Regions from separate parts of the Homo sapiens genome. Here region 1 is linked to region 2. The links are contacts of gene promoters, found by promoter capture Hi-C in human tissues and cell types (Jung and others, 2019). All regions are on one chromosome and are shown on one strand. Each heading gives the region's core, a stretch centred on a gene start or on the middle of the fragment in contact. The rest is flanking DNA. Distances are from core to core; before and after follow the strand shown. Region 1 overlaps LOC105377949 (a long non-coding RNA gene). Region 2 holds the start of MARCKS (myristoylated alanine rich protein kinase C substrate).

Region 1 (2,700 bases), core at 96-2,595, 1.1 Mb before region 2:
GCAACCATCTTCACCAGGAGAAACATGGCTAGCTAGGATGATGTCTCCACTGTTGTGGGACTATTACAAATGAATTACAACTTTCACTTTGTCTTTGGCTTATTCTCTCCAGATATAAAGTCTTAGGTGGGAGTATATGATTAGCTAAGACTTCATCACATGTCCTGTACTCTGGTTGCCTCTGTAACAAAAGTGGGGCAATTTCTCTTGCCAACACTACACATAATGGAGACTCCCCCAAAACTCAGAAGGGAGGTAAGATGCAAATTAAACAATTTTTAAGTCTACTACAGATCCTGGCAAAGGCTTTCTAGTTTGATTTTATAGCCAGTGGTGATCTGCCTCCAAATCCTATCTATCTTGAATTATGGCTTATGCAGGTTTAATAAGTCACCTCTTACTAGTTTAATTCAGGAGCCTCTTCTCTTGTCTTGGACATTTTTGGTAATTAAGCCTACTCTTTCTACTTGAAACAACCATACTCATGTTTCAGGACTTTATCTCCCTCTGATTCTGCCTTCTCTGGTTGTTCTCTATCAGACTTTCATTTATTTCTCTATTTTCAAAAAACTGATTTTCTCTAGAAATTCAGTCTTTGCTTCTTTTTTCTTCTGAATTTCATACTATGAGCAACACCATTCACTTTTTACTTTCCACATTTAACACATATATAAATAAATTCCAAATCAACATACTTCCTGCTTGGCCTCTCTCCTCGTAAGATACAGATTGGAATTAAATGCTTACACCAAGAACTTCACATGCCCATAACCAAACTAAATATGTTCTCACAAATTGTTTTTTTCCTCTTAATCTCTATCTTTATGAAAAAACACTATTTTTAATTGATGCAAACAGTTATTGAATCTTCTCTTTCTCTTCCTCAATCTCATAACCCCCATGAACATCCTTTTGGTTGTCAAGATCTATTAATTCTACGCTTAAGTCTTGCTTCTTTCTCTCTGCTCTTTTCTACCCTTACCCTCCCTGTCTTAGCTTAGGCCCTACATATTGTGTCTTTTAATGAACTGATGATGGCCTATGGGTCAGTTATGTCATACCATATTTGTCTCCTTGGTGTTTAGTGCTTGGGATATAGTATCATTATCGAATTGAAACATTTTAAAATTCCATTGTAAAGGAGAAACGGTCTTGTATATATGACTAAATATATGTGCATCTGTGCCTACATTCACTATAATCATTATGACTTAGATAAGATGTAAAATAGATTTAATGACTAAAATATATGAACAATATATGGCAATTTATATGTGAATTACTGTTTGAAGTATATGTGAAAATATCAGTGGGACATTTTAAAATCTTCTGTACACACTCATGTGTTCAATATTGAGCCAGTATATGAATGAGTCAGAGTAGCTGTGGCTTCTTGAGCTGGTTGCTCAGCTATTCCTGTGCTTTCCTTCTTTTACGTTTCTTTGTTCCACTTTATTTTACCCCAGTTTTAAACTCTTGATAATTAAGTATGCAATACAGAGTTCAAAATCTAAGTTACATTTTCTGTGGATATTTTAAATTAATAATGGGAATGGAAATGTATCACTCAATACACCTCTAATTTCAGTATTTTATTTTTTTAAAGTTAGCATTTGCAACTATTAAATCACTGTTAGTTCATTAAGATTAACCTTTCCAAAAACAATTAGCTCATTTCATATTAGTCCATTTTTATACTGCTATGAAGAAATAACTGAGACTGGGTAATGTATGAAGAAAAAGAGGTTTAATGGACTCACAGTTCCACATGGCTGGGGAGGCCTCACAATCATGACAGAAGGCAAAGGAGGAGCAAAGGCACGTCTTACATGGTGGCAGGCAAGAGAGTGTGTGCAGGGGAACTACCCTTTATAAAACCATCAGATCTCATGAGCTGTATTCACTATCATTAGAATAGCATGAGGAAAACCCGCCCCCATGATTAAATTAACTCCCATGTGGTCTCTCCCATGACATGTGGGGATTATGGGAGCTACAATTCAAGATGAGATTTGGGTGGGACATAGCCAAACTGTATCAGAGTGCAATGACAATTTTTGTACAGTAAGCTGGATAGAGGTTACCTGGGGCTTGGTAAAAAAAAAAAAAAAAAGCCATGGTTTATTTATATTAAATAATTTTAATAAAGTAACATACACATAATTAGGAAGGTATTACACACTAAATTTATATGCAATTTTTTAAATTAAAGCTTTCCGTCAGTTTTCATTCATGATCACAGCTTTCTCTTTTTAAATAATGGATGTTATATCTGAAGTGACTACATACAATTCCTAATCAGGACTTTCATTTTGCTTTCTTAAAATTGTAAAAGACCGTGATTGATAAGCCATACGGTTCAGGCCAGGAGGTGATAAATAATGTAAAATCATTTATTAAAGCATTAAACATTTTACAATTGGGATTACACTTAAAGAATATAAAACTCTCCATTTTTTATTGATAAAAGTAATGTTGAAATTTTTCAAAACACAAATGGATTTCAAATTCAATAGTACCTTTAAAAAATTTAAAATACTTTATTTCCAGCTTCATTGAGATACAACTAAAGTACAATAAACCACATATCTATGAAGTATACAACCTGATAAGGTTTTTATATATGTATACACCAATAAAACTATCACTACTATTAAGAAAATGGACATATCAATGACCGTAAGTCCTATTTATACATCT
Region 2 (2,743 bases), core at 161-2,660:
CCAGCACCAGGAGAAATGAACCATTCCCTCGACTGCTTCTCACCTTCATAAGCGAAAGATTATTCCTTGCAAGATCACCAAATGTAAACGAGAAAAGGTGGTCTGATTTTGCCACGAGTGAAAACTTTGGGAAGAAAATGCTTATTAAGCTGTTTCCTTGGTTCCCCTCACCCCTCATACTTTAAGTCAGTGCCTTGTCTCTCACGCACAAAAAGCGTCTGGTACTTCGGTGGCAAGGAGTGCAGTGACAGATGGAGGTATCCTGTGTACCATTATAGAAGGTTTTCCTCTAACCCAAGTTAGACTTGGAGAGCTCAGGGATCTTGCTATCTCTCAACATACAGAACATTTCTCCTTAGAACTGCAATCCGGTTTAGAATGTCATCGTTGCTGCTGCCTCCCTTCCTTTCAGGAGCACATTCGCCTGCGTGCGCACTCACACACACGTTCAAAAAGAGTCCATTCGATTCTGGCAGTAGGCTGAAAACGATCCATATTGACGCGAATAACATCCCAACTGTAAATATGGATTCGTCTACTCGAGGCTGTGTCTCATTTCACCATAGAGGAAAATTATGTCATTTAAAACAGTGATAAAACGCGAAGAGTTTCGATCTTCTGTAAATGGCTCTCACTTTGAATTGTGGGGGAAAAAAATCACTAATTGGGAATAGCCAGAGAAGGGGGAATTTGTTGAGCGCCCAAGGCCAATCTCAAAATATTTTATTTCATGCCAATGTGGGAGAGGGAAGGGAGTGTGGCTTCGCTGTTTGCCGCTTTTGCATTTTCCACATCTGGCCTACAGACCTAATTCTAACTTGCGATCTCGCTTGATGAAATTCGATCTTCGTGGTTTAAATACCTTTCAATTTGGGACGATTTAACCATTGCAGCAGTTCAAAAAACAAACCCTGAGCATTATCTGTAAAACCAATATGGAAAAAAGAAAGAAAACATGCTGCAAACACACAAATCGCAACCATTGTCTTTAACACTCGCATACACACACATACACATAAACACACGGAAAGATGGGGGAGGGGAGCGAGTGGAGAGAGAGAGACACACGGATATAGACCGACGAGAGTCAATGCGAGTCAAGTTAACGCTTTCTCCGCCCCGATGCACAAGTACCCCCCTCCCGTGTTAATTAATTCCAAACAAAGCAAGCCAATCAAGAAATGCATTATTATTTTCAAGCAGAGAGAGACGAGTGCCATGTATTTTTTAATTGATTTATTTATTTGGAGGACATTAATTCTCGGTCTGAGGCTGATTTTCAAACCGTTTGCAAAGCGCGGCTCCATTGTTCGCCAGGCGCGCAGACCCCGCCCCCTGCTTTGTGTGCGGCGCGCGGATTGGCCGACGCGCGCGGGGGCCGCGTCAGCGCCCGCGAGCCCATTCATCTGTGCACTTGGGCGTTGGACCCCGCATCTTATTAGCAACCAGGGAGATTTCTCCATTTTCCTCTTGTCTACAGTGCGGCTACAAATCTGGGATTTTTTTATTACTTCTTTTTTTTTCGAACTACACTTGGGCTCCTTTTTTTGTGCTCGACTTTTCCACCCTTTTTCCCTCCCTCCTGTGCTGCTGCTTTTTGATCTCTTCGACTAAAATTTTTTTATCCGGAGTGTATTTAATCGGTTCTGTTCTGTCCTCTCCACCACCCCCACCCCCCTCCCTCCGGTGTGTGTGCCGCTGCCGCTGTTGCCGCCGCCGCTGCTGCTGCTGCTCGCCCCGTCGTTACACCAACCCGAGGCTCTTTGTTTCCCCTCTTGGATCTGTTGAGTTTCTTTGTTGAAGAAGCCAGCATGGGTGCCCAGTTCTCCAAGACCGCAGCGAAGGGAGAAGCCGCCGCGGAGAGGCCTGGGGAGGCGGCTGTGGCCTCGTCGCCTTCCAAAGCGAACGGACAGGTAAATTCTACCTGTGGTTGTGGTCATTTATTTCGTGTCTTTCTCTCCTTCCCTCCTGGTGGCTCCCAAGGCTCATTCGTGGAGAGGAGTGTGGCTGGATTCTAGTCTGAAAGTTGAATGGAAATGGATAGCCTAAATTGTGGATTTTTCATAGCCGGGGTCCCCCCACACCAAAGGAGTGGTTCCTTAGAATCCTGGAGAATTCTTGAGTAGACGGGAGGAAAGGAGTGATAAATCGTCTAAAATGGCGTGGTTTGGAGATTGGCAGAACGTGACTAGCTAGGTGCCCTCCTTCCCCCGCCCCCAGCCAGGTTTCATTTGTGTTTGGGGGCACAATGGTGTTTGGGTGTCTCTCGGGTTTGTTGTCGAAGCTGGATTGTCTTCGAGATTTCTGAACTGGTGGTGTGATTGTGTGTGGCGGGGGGGGGAGTCGGGAAAGGGGGGCGCAATGGGGATGGTGGTGGAGAAAGGCGAGGAGGGAAAGGCTGTCTTATTGTATGCCGCGGCGGCGTGCCCTGGGTTCTTGGAAAGGTGGCTGGCTGGGGCCAGACAGAGGGCTTCGGTACCTTTTGATGAGGCTTTCCCACTGTCCTAAATCTTTATTCGTAGCTGTCTGTGGAATTACACATCCATTTGATTTTTAAATGGTATCTGTGGGGTGGGAACACTCGGTGGGTCCTTTAAGAACCTTTCCAGATGGTCAAAAAGAGGCGGTTCGTGCCTTTCGGTCGGGATTGTTCTTGTGCGTGGCGCCTCGACCACCCGCGAGGGGCCGCCCGGCGCTGCCCGGACCCAGGCAGATAGCCACGATTGGGTGGACCCGAGAGGTC

The links. The method cuts DNA at HindIII sites, captures the fragments that hold promoters and counts their contacts. A contact is called where the count stands out against the background at its distance.
Region 1: a fragment that was not itself captured here is called in contact with the fragment with the promoter of MARCKS in region 2 in 1 of the 25 tissues and cell types used here (bladder).

What each region holds. Positions count from the first base shown.
Region 1 is chr6:112,732,520-112,735,219 of GRCh38, forward strand. The region is part of intron 2 of LOC105377949 (a long non-coding RNA gene); the gene reads left to right. The region is part of intron 2 of LOC107986634 (a long non-coding RNA gene); the gene reads right to left. Among named protein-coding and RNA genes, the nearest start is that of RFPL4B, 390 kb to the left of the region's middle. The HindIII fragment of the contact is 7,131 bases long and covers 1-2,700 here.
Region 2 is chr6:113,855,935-113,858,677 of GRCh38, forward strand. It overlaps MARCKS (myristoylated alanine rich protein kinase C substrate), which reads left to right and starts at 1,411. Exons shown (of 2, transcript NM_002356.7): 1 at 1,411-1,913. The coding sequence starts at 1,812. RefSeq lists enhancers at 166-225, 246-295, 566-1,111, 1,112-1,655, 1,443-1,492. The HindIII fragment of the contact is 5,128 bases long and covers 69-2,743 here.